3 separate regions of the Homo sapiens genome follow, and regions 2 and 3 are each linked to region 1. Evidence: promoter capture Hi-C in 16 types of primary human blood cells and fetal thymus (Javierre and others, 2016). All regions are on one chromosome and are shown on one strand. Each heading gives the region's core, a stretch centred on a gene start or on the middle of the fragment in contact. The rest is flanking DNA. Distances are from core to core; before and after follow the strand shown.

Region 1 (3,437 bases), core at 846-3,345:
TAAGTTATTCTCCCTACTCAGTCTCCCAAGTAGCTGGGACTACAGGCATGTGCCACTGTGCCTGACTACTTTTTTGTATTTTTTGTAGAAACAGGGTTTCACCATGTTGCCCAGACTGGTCTCAAACTCCTAGATGCAAGCAATCCACCCGCCTTGGCCTCCCAAAGTGCTAGGAAACTCTTTCTCATTCCAGGAAACTCTTCCTCATTCTTCAGGTCCTAACACAAATTTAACTTCCTTTGGCAAACTTTTCTTGACTGCTTCACCCAATTCCCTCACCATCCCACACTCACTCAAGACTAAGAACCCTTGTTAAAAACTCTTGGAATACTTTCATTGCATTTATCATAAAGAAAATATATCGATTAGTTGTGTAATTAGTTGCTTAAAGCCTGTATTCCCATTAATCTATAAGCTCCACAAGAACAGGGACTATGTTTTTTTTGTTCACAGAGGCATCCTCAACACCCTACAGTAACTGGAATACGAAATATTCAATAAATGTTTGTTACGTGGATAAACTATATAGCTGAGCCCAAATAATAACAATGACTGCCATGATGTGAAGTTATTCAAAAAGCCAGGGTCACTTAATGCAATCCCTCTAATCACAACCACCACTTAATAAAACCATTATTATTATTATTCTCATTTTAAAGATAAGGAAACTGCAGCTCAGTGAGATGAAACACCTTGCCCAAGGGTACACAGCCTATAAAGTGGCACAGCTAGGATTCGAACTCTGACCAGTGCTGCTCCAACACTCAAGCTACTTTCATCACATGGCACTGCCTCCAAAGGATCCACACAAGTCAGCGAGGCAGAAAGACGAAGACAATAATAAGGCAAGCACCAAACCAGAAAAGAACTTGGACTAGTTCTTTAGAACAATGTGACTTCACTGGGTATCTCAGTGCCTTAGGGTTACTGTAACAAAGTACCACAAATTGCGTGGCATAAAACAACAGAAACTCTCTCGCAGTTCTGGAAGCTAGCAATCTGAAATCCAGGTGTCTGCAAGGCCATCCTCCCTGGAAAGTCTCTAGCAGAGAATCTTTCCTTGCCTCTCCCAGCTTCTGGTAGCCCCAAGCATACCTTGGCTTTTGGCAACATAAATCCAATCCAATCTCAGCCTTCATCTAGACATGGTCGTTTTTCCTTTGTTGCTGTGTCTGTATCCATACTTCCCTCTTTTTAAAAGGCAAACAGTCATCTTGGATTTGGCACCCACCTTAATCAAGTATGACCTCATCTTAACTGATTACATCTCCAAAGACCCTATTTCTAAATGTCACATTCTGTGGTTCTGGGTGGAAAACGATTTGGTAGGGCCCACTACACTGGGCCACAAAGTTGTCCCATATGAAAATAATACCCACTTCATGGTAGTGTGGTGAGGCTTAAATAAACTTATATATGTTTAAATTTCTTATAATGGTGCCTGGCAAGAAAAGTATAACTATATAAATGTTAGCTTCTCACGTTAGGACTATTACTAAGAGTAACAGGAGGTGATCAAAGGTCTCTGATTCAGAACCAAGTCCTTGGGATCTGGGAATCCCCACAGGCAGGTACCGGGCCCTAAAGATCCAAGCACAGAGGCTTTGAATCCGCTCCATTATTCTCGAGGCACAATATTCATTCTCTATGGGAGAGGACGGAAGTCTACCAAGGCGGGAAAAGAGTAATCAAAGTTACACCCCGGCTTTAACGCACTGACGCTACTGCTCAGAGGCTCGAGATGTAAGCGGGGCGGCAGAGGCAAGGCGGGGGGCCTCAAGCGATGTGAGTGGGGCCCTGAGCATGAGCAGGGGTCGGCGGAGAAGCCGAGAGACCCGCCAAGAGGGAAGGAACTGCCGGGCGGCCGAGGGCGGAGTTGGGAAGGGGTGGCTAGACGTCGCAGGCCCCGCCCCGGCCGGTACCAACTCACCCCTTGCCGCCGGCCCCGCCAGGCTTCGGCCGCTTTTTGCGACGCTTGCGACCGGACTCAGATCCCCGGTCGACGCCGGCATCTGCCCCGGACAAGTAACGCTTCAGATACTCGGCCTTGGAAAGCGGCGGAGCTGCCGCCATGGCAGCGGCGGGGGCAGAGAGACGGGTCGGCGCTGGGGACAAAATGCCTCAACGCGTAACGGACGCCAGCCACCCGACAGGGCGGGGCCACGGCCGGAAGTGGCGGAGAGTGCTAAGAATCGCGCGGCTGGCAGGTGCGGCCACCGGGACGCGCTCGCAGGCTAGCCAGGGACGTGCGCACCTTCGGGGCGCTCCACAGCCCTGGGACGACGCCACCAGGTTTCTTCTCTTCATTCACTCACCCACCCACCCACCCATCCATCCAACCGCAGCAAGCGCTGTTCTATGAGGCCACAACCTGACCCAAAGGACCCCGCCCCCATCGGCCGCCTAAACTCCAGAGCACGAGCAAGAAAGTGGAGGGCCACGGGCTGCAGCGTAGCCGAGTTTGAATACTGGTTCCATAGCTGGCTAGCTGTACGACCTCGGGCAAGTTATCACAAAACAGGGAGAATCCCGGCACCTAACTCGGAACGGTCACAGGCTGAGATGATATTACTGTGTGAAGTGCGCAGAGCGGTGTTGGGCACATGGTCATCGGAACTATGTTCGTTATTTTTATAAGTATCTTTAAGTGGGGGGAATCTGCTCCACTAGGCTTCCAGGTACCTACCGTCCAAGAAAGGAAGCCAGGAAGTGCAAACCAACATAATTACTATGAAAAACGTAGTTTCTAAGACCTGTGTAACTCTTCTAGTGTTCTATTACAAGTAGCCCCCAGTTATCTCTTGAAGGAAACTGTAAAACAATCTTGCCAATGAGAAGGACGGACCTGGATCATTTTTTAGCATAGTAAAAGAGAGAAACCAGAGAGAATGAATTCTAACACTCAAGTTTTGGGGGGAAAGAAAAGACTTTATTCTTTGCAGGGGGTTTAGAGCTTTACCTGAATTATCTCATTTAACCCTCACAATTCTCAAATCGTTTCATTATCATATTTTACAGATAAGAACTGAAGCGTGGCAAGATTAAGGAAGTTGCTCAACTTCACATAGTCAGAACATGACTCTAGGGAGTAGAGGCTAGCGAAGTGGGGTGCAAGAGGTCATCCAAATTTCTTGAAATACCAGATCTTTTTACCTCATCATATATGTTAGATTGTCAGTTTTATCGTTTTCTTCCCAGCTTTATTATTTGACAAAAAATTATATATATTCAAGGTGTACAATGTGATGACTGGATATAATTATACATTGTGTAATGATTACCAAAATCAAATTAAGTAAAACATCCTTCACTAATTTATGTAGTAGTTCGGTGGGGGGGCACTTAAGCAAATTTGTCTTAGCAAACTTCAAGTAAACAATACAGAATTATTAGCTATAGTCAACATGTTGTACATTAGATTCCCAGAACTTGTCTTA
Region 2 (3,437 bases), core at 648-3,147, 570 kb after region 1:
AGTTGTTGGTTTCACCCTCCACTATACCTGGCGCCTGGGAAGGCCCTGGCCAAATTGCTCTGCAGGGTCTGGTTTGACCCAGATGCTCCATGACCCAGTGCCAACTTTTCCCCTGTTAAGCTTGGTCACTGATTTTTCTCTTTTGGTGGGGGCCTCTGGGATCTAGGTGTTTGAGCCCAGATGAGTCATGGCTGGACGACCCCTCCGCATAGGAGATCAGCTGGTTCTGGAAGAAGATTATGATGAGACCTACATTCCTAGTGAGCAAGGTAACAAGTCTGTGAAGAGGCCTGTGGTGTATTGTGTTTGTTTTTTGAGGACAGGGATTGTCTGGTTTATTTTTATTCTTTCAGTGCAAAGTATGGTACATGTACAGAGTTGCTTAGTATATTCGGGTTAGATCAAATGTGAGCCTACCTTGGCCTCTTGCCTGTTTTTTTTTAAGTTTCTTTCTGTTGCCCAGGCTGGAGTGCAGTGGCGTGATCTCAGCTCACTGCAACCTCTGCCTCCCAGGTTCAAGTGATTCTCCCACCTCAGCCTCCCGAGAAGCTGGGATTACAGGCGTGCACCACCACACCTGGCTAATTTTTTGTACTTTTAGTAGAGACGGGTTTCACCATGTTGGACAAGCTGGTCTCGAACTCCCGACCTCAAGCGGTTTGCCTGCCTCCGGCTCCCAAAGTGCTGGGATTACAGGCGTGAGCCACCTTGCCTGGCTACTTGCCTATTTTTGTAAATACACCTTCATTGGAAAACAGCCACAATGGTTTATGTATTGTGTGTGGCTGCTTCTATGCTACAGCTGCAGAGATATGTGGCTGTTAAGAGAGGTATATGACCCACAAAGGGTAAGATAGTTACTCTCCGGTTGTTTACAGAAAAAGTTTGCTGTCTTTGGGTTAGAGCAGTGATTAGATTTAAATGGAAACATAGTAGGGGGTATCTAAATACAGTGTGTTCTGAGACCAGGGGAAACCCAATTTCCTAAGCACGAACTTAGAGCAGTGTTTTTTTAAACAACAATAACATTATTAGTAACAATAACAACATAACTTATTATGTGCCAGCGTCTGTTTTAAGCACTTTGCATGTATTACCTTATTACCTTTTCCTTTGTTTTTTGTTTTTTTTTTTTTTTTTTTTTTTTGAGACAGAGTCTCACTCTGTCACCCAGGCTGGAATGCAGTGGTATGATCTTGGCTCACTGCAACCTCTCTCTCCCGGGTTCAAGCGAATCTCATGCCTCAGCCTCCTGAGTAGCTAGAACTACAGGTGCCCACCACCACACCTGGGGAACTAATTTTTGTATTTTTAGTAGAGAAGGGGTTTTGCAGTGTTGGCCAGGCTGGTCTCAAACTGACCTCAAGTGATCTTCCCACCTCCACTTCCCAGAGTGCTGGGATTACAGGCGGGAGACACCATGCCTGGCCCATGTATTACCTTTTCAACCCTCACTGCAACTCCATGAGTTAGGTACTATTATTATCCCCATTTTACAGATGAGGAAATCAAGGCACAGAAAGATTAACTTCCTGTGGATATACAGTTCTATTCTAAGTGGTGTTGCTAGAATCCACCTCCAGGTATTCAAGCTCTAGGGCCTGTACTTTGTTCTTTGTTTTTTTTTGTTAGTTTGTTTTTTTTGAGATGGAGTTTCACTCTGTCGCCCAGGCTGGAGGGCAGTGGCGGGATCTCTGCTCACTGCAACCTCCGCCTCCCAGGTTCAAGTGAATCTCCTGCCTTAGCCTCCCTAGTAGCTGGGACTACAGATGCGTGCCACTGTGCTTGGGTAATTTTTTTGTATTTTTAACAGAGACGGGGTTTTGCCATGTTGGCGAGGCTGGTCTCAAACTGACAAGTGATCTCCCCGTCTTGGCCTCCCAGAGGATTGGGATTACAGGCATGAGCCACTTGTGCCTGGCCATAGGGCCTGCACTTTGAAGCACTATGCAATTATTTGGAGTGAAAGTTTCTTTGAAATTCTGACGAGTTATGATCTAGGCATACAAAGTTTGCTTATAATTCAGGTGGTTCATGGACTTGAGAGCAGGGTTCACAATTCTTGCATCTCTAGGAATACATGGATCTCATGTTAAATGCTGGACTTTGCTTATAGCATAGGGTGTTTTTTTTGTTTTCCATATTTTTGTTTTTAGAGACAGTCTTACTCTGTCACCCAGGCTAGTATGCAGTGGCTCCATCATAGCTCACTGCAGCCTTGAACTCGTGGGCTCAGGTGATCCTCCCATGTAGCTAGAACTACAGGTGCATGTCATGTGTCTGGCTAATTAAAATAAATTTTTTTGTAGGGATAGGCTCTCACTGTGTTGCCCAGGCTAGTCTTGAACTCCTGGGTTCAAGTGATCCTCCTGTCTGGGCTTCCCAAAGTGCAGGGATTACAGACATAAGCCACTACGACTGGCCTCTTTCTTTCTTTCCTACTTTCTCTTTAGAGACGGAGTCTCACTTTGTCGCCCAGGCTGGACTGCAATGGCGTGAGCTCGGCTCGCTGCAACCTCCAGGTTCAAGTGATTCTTCTGTCTCAGACTCCCAAGTAGCTGGGACTACAGGTGCACGCCACCACACCCAGCTAATTTTTGTATTTTTAGCAGAGACAGGGTTTCACCATATTGGTCAGGCTGGTCTTGAACTCTTGACTTCAGGTGATCTACCTGCCTCGGCCTCCCAAAGTGCTGGGATTACAGGTGTGAGTCACTGCACCTAGCCATGAATGGCCTGTTTCTTAAATTTGTATACATTTGGTTGCTGTTGTAAATGGAGTCAAAGGTTTTTCTAAGGATGTTTATAAAAACTTTCTTCGGCCCAGTCCAGGTGTAGGCATTCTAACCTCAAGCCACCATTTTCTCTTCCTGGGCTATCTCAGTAGCTTCCTAATTAGCCTTACTGTTTATAAAGCAGATCATGTCAGGGCTGTGCTTTTAGTCCCCCCGCATCCCCAGTATACTCAACATAACACCCTTGATGGGATTGCAGGGCTCTGTGACCTGGCTCTTTCTACCAGTCACATTGGCCTTTTTTTGTTGTTTGTTTGTTTTTTTTTTGAGACCGAGTTTCACTCTGTCACTCAGACTGGAGTGCAGTGGTGTGAACTTGGCTTATTGAAGCCTTGACCCCTTGGGCTCAAGTGATTCTCCCACCTCAGCCTCCCAAGTAGCTGGGACCACAAGTGCATACCATCAGGCCTGGCTAATTTTTGTATTGTGTTGGTAGAGATGGGGTCTTGCCGTGTTGCCCAGGCTGGTCTTGAACTCCTGGGCTCAAGCAATCCACCCACCTCAGTCTCCCAACGTGCTGGGATTACAGGTGTGCATCACCATACCTGGCTATACTGGCTTTCTGACAGTCCCCAGAGCTACTGGTTGTCACAGGTCCTTTGCACCTGTGCTTCTTCTGCCTGAATGCTCTTTCTCCAGTGC
Region 3 (3,437 bases), core at 663-3,162, 510 kb after region 1:
TCCAACCAGATGCCTTGCTTACCGAAAGCCTCCAGAAGCCTCAGTATTGTTTTAGCCACTCTACTCCAAATGGATAAAATGAGACTCTGATTGAGGAAAAAAAAGTAACCCTAGTAGTTTGACTTCTTATTGAATATTTTACTGTGTTAACGCTCATTATTTATACAGACATTAGGTTTACAGAATATTCTGTTTTACATCACCAAAATTCACAGTCCGAGAATAACAACATAACCAGGTCCCAATTCCTCCATGTACCCCACAAGCTTCTGTCCACCCTATTTTCTGGACAGAAATTAGCACAACCCACAGGTTTTTCCTGGGCCAAGTCTTCCTTTGCTGCCACTGTCTTGGCTTCTAATCAAGCTCTGACAGGCCAACATTGTGAAGTCCTCACCCTTTCCCATTCACTTCTGGTCTCCTAGTCTAGCTAATCCCCCTCCCCCAGAAGGTTAAGGCAGTTGGTTCACAACCAAGTTGTTTGGTGACCTTGGGTGAGCTCCAGACAGGCACTGGGGTGAGGAGATGTCTGTGCAAAATTACTTGTAGAATGATCTTGGGATGCTGGATTTTAATTTTTGAAGCAAGAAAGTTAGGGGGGGACATATTTCCTGTCCTGGGAAAAATGGAGACCAAAGTGATATTAAGAAAGTAGTTTGGATTTCAAATTTATAAATCACTTGCTCTGTGGGTAGCTATCAGGAACTAGATCATTTTCCACCTCTGCTTATTGTACTTCTTAATTTTAGGTTTTATACCTGGGAAAGCTGTGACTCTATTAGAGCTTTGAATCTTTTCCTATCCTTTTATCTTTACTCCTACAGGGAATGGCCTCAGCTCCCTTCTCTTTTAGAATTAAACAAGTAAAAACTAAGAGTTAACTTTTTAAAAAAACTGACTCCAGGGAAAGGACATTATTATATTACCAATAGCTGATTTTTTTTTCCATTCTGGGACCTAAAATGCTTACAGGTACTAGCAGTACATGTCGGATAGCAAAGACTTTTCCTTTCAGACCCAACTAAATGATCTCCTTTCTGCCTTTGATACTCTTTTCCTTCTTTGTCTTTCATCCTTGCCTATCACCTCACAGATGGATTCTTCCTCATTTCTCTTGCCTCACTTGCCCAGGTTTATTGACTAGCGTCAGTTTAAGGAGCTGGACTTCCTGGGACCTCCTTGGCATCTTGTAGGGTGATTGGAGTGGCCTGAGTACTCAGCTCTTCAGAGGTCAGGTGACCCACTTTCTTTGGTTAATGAAATGTTACTGTCTCCAGGTTAGTAGCTGTCATGAACAGGAAAGGTGGCAAAATGGAAGACCAGTTCTATTGTTCTTTTTGTTTAGGGGATTCGTTTTTTATCTTGTAATCTTAAGATTTCCTCTCCCCTCAACTTTACAGCAGCCTTAGGCCACCTGCCGTATTTTTCAGTATCCCCTGCAAATTTAGAAATTGAAAATGAGTGTAAAGCATATTGTTTCTTTTCCAAAATCCTTTGAAGCCAAAGGAGTAAAGAAAGAAAAAAGGAAGGGGTGAGGAGGGGGCTTAACTGCTTCCCAGTAAAGACCCTGGAAAGCCCACTCTTGCAGGAGGATAAGTGTTTTGGAGAGTTGTGCATGGGAGCGAGCGCCTCAGTGTTACTCTTTCTTGTTCAGGATCAGTCAGAAAGCAACACAAGTGTTGGCGACCCCTGTTCTCCCTTCTCCCTCTGTCCACTGGCCTGCAATGATAAAAGACATGCAGACCAATGGGAAAGGCCCCAAATGCAGTGAGTGGAGAATGGGACAGTCATTTTTCAGGAGCAGAATTTAAAAATACAGATGTATAATACATATTTTTACAAGCAAGAAGCTGTTGTTAAGACTTTTTTTTACACTTAGAGTTTATAATTTTGGGGCAGGAAGGAAGTAACTGTAAAAAGAAAAACAAGTGCAAGTTTTCTTTAAAAAAATAATAGGCTGATGGGACTTGCTATCGAAGGGGTTGAGTTTTATGCCCTGGAAAGGGCTGGGAAAAAGCCAGTTTTTCCCAACATGGGTAGAAATTATAAAGCAAAATGTGGCATTTTCACTTCATGGTAGCAGTTCTGAAAGTTTATTTACACAGTAAGTTCCGAGCTAGAAGTGGACAGTCTCCAGTCTTCCTGTCAGACTCTGTAGTTATGGGGTGTTCCCAGTCAGCCAAAGCAGCACCAAGTGCAGTGGGAATGAAGAGAACCCAGATAAAAAACTGACTCAGTATTCTTGTTTTATTGGTTTATGGCTTGTGGGCAGCTGGCTGAGGCCAGGAACACCAGAGGCCCTCCTTGTATTTCCCTCTCCCTTATCAGGTAATTCCACACTTAGCAGGTCCCATACCTGGAAGCAGCGGGTTGACCAGGTAGGAGTAGGATGCAGTGGGTATACTAGGAAAACCCAGCTCTTCCCACTAACACTGGTACCGTAGTTTACTATGCTAGAACTGATAGGGAGGTAATGAACTTGGTCCCCACTACCTAGCCCAAGAACCAGCCTGGGTACCCACGTACCATTAGGAGCGGGGAGGGGAAGAACAGGATAGGGGAAAAAGATGACCTTCATCAAGGAGCTCTTGTGGTGGAGGACATAAGGAAGCCCTGAGGCTGCCATCCTTTCTCCAGGCAGCCTTGATACTGAAGGCAGTAATGTTAGAGCCATAAAGCACTGTATTTCTCATACTCTTGGTATAATGCTAGTGCCACTGTGTGATGCTTTAGTCAAATAAATGGAGGGGCCATTAGAGAGGGTAGGAAGGCAATGAAACCACTCTGAATTATGTAAAGATCTTGCTACTTCTTATAGCCTAATAGGAAGAAATCCAGGCAGGGGTTATAGGGCATCAGCTGTTGAATGAATGTTCAACATTATGCTTTTAAGGATTAGATAGAAGAGGTCTCCTACCTATTCCTTTTAGCACCTTGGCTGCAAAGCTCCAGAGGAAGATTTGGGGGAAAGAGTGAGCCTATGACCAGGAAGACAGAGCCCAGCCCTGCTATAGTCCAGTTGCTCTCCCACAGGGCACCTGGAGCTTAGGGGGTTAGGATATTTCAGTGCTGCCTATCATATGTAGAATAAAGGGTGGTTCAGATAGAGACAATGAAATTAATATGGCAGAAATTCATGTGTTAAGTGGAACTTCTTAGTGGGCACTTCATTTAAGAGAGCTAAAAAAGAGCTCTTTGGCTAGATAAGCCCTTCCCATCTCACTTTTGGTCAGGCTGCAACCACAGAAAAGAAAACATTGAAAACAACACCCATCTTCTGAGATGGGATGCTATCTTGGAGATGAGGTCTAAAACTAGGACTGGTGAGTGGTTGTGTTTCTGCCTTTCCTAGCTTTGATCCCACTATTCCCTGTCTTTGTACTCCCTCTCCTTCTCCTCTTTCCAGCCGCCCCCATTTGTATAAATAGTCAATCTAG

Evidence for each region. Contacts are between HindIII fragments. The CHiCAGO score rates a contact against its expected background, and 5 or more counts as called.
Region 2: a contact is called between a fragment that was not itself captured here and the fragment with the promoter of BUD13 in region 1, in 6 of 17 cell types (naive B cells, neutrophils, total B cells and 3 more). The highest score is 7.5, in naive B cells.
Region 3: a contact is called between a fragment that was not itself captured here and the fragment with the promoter of BUD13 in region 1, in 9 of 17 cell types (naive B cells, non-activated CD4 T cells, neutrophils and 6 more). The highest score is 7.5, in naive B cells.

The regions. Positions count from the first base shown.
Region 1 is chr11:116,770,892-116,774,328 of GRCh38, forward strand. BUD13 (BUD13 spliceosome associated protein) reads right to left here and starts at 2,096. Exons shown (of 10, transcript NM_032725.4): 1 at 1,931-2,096. The coding sequence starts at 2,073. It overlaps ZPR1 (ZPR1 zinc finger), which reads right to left. Exons shown (of 14, transcript NM_003904.5): 14 at 2,908-3,437. BUD13-DT (BUD13 divergent transcript) reads left to right here and starts at 2,580. Exons shown (of 2, transcript NR_186226.1): 1 at 2,580-2,620; 2 at 3,019-3,314. RefSeq lists a silencer at 2,235-2,434 and an enhancer at 2,555-2,644. The HindIII fragment of the contact is 6,866 bases long and covers 1-3,437 here.
Region 2 is chr11:117,338,400-117,341,836 of GRCh38, forward strand. CEP164 (centrosomal protein 164) reads left to right here. Exons shown (of 33, transcript NM_014956.5): 3 at 167-269. The coding sequence starts at 188. Among named protein-coding and RNA genes, the nearest start is that of CEP164, 12 kb to the left of the region's middle. The HindIII fragment of the contact is 3,559 bases long and covers 119-3,437 here.
Region 3 is chr11:117,285,581-117,289,017 of GRCh38, forward strand. It overlaps RNF214 (ring finger protein 214), which reads left to right. Exons shown (of 15, transcript NM_207343.4): 15 at 1-874. BACE1 (beta-secretase 1) reads right to left here. Exons shown (of 9, transcript NM_012104.6): 9 at 118-3,437. Among named protein-coding and RNA genes, the nearest start is that of BACE1, 29 kb to the right of the region's middle. The HindIII fragment of the contact is 3,297 bases long and covers 265-3,437 here.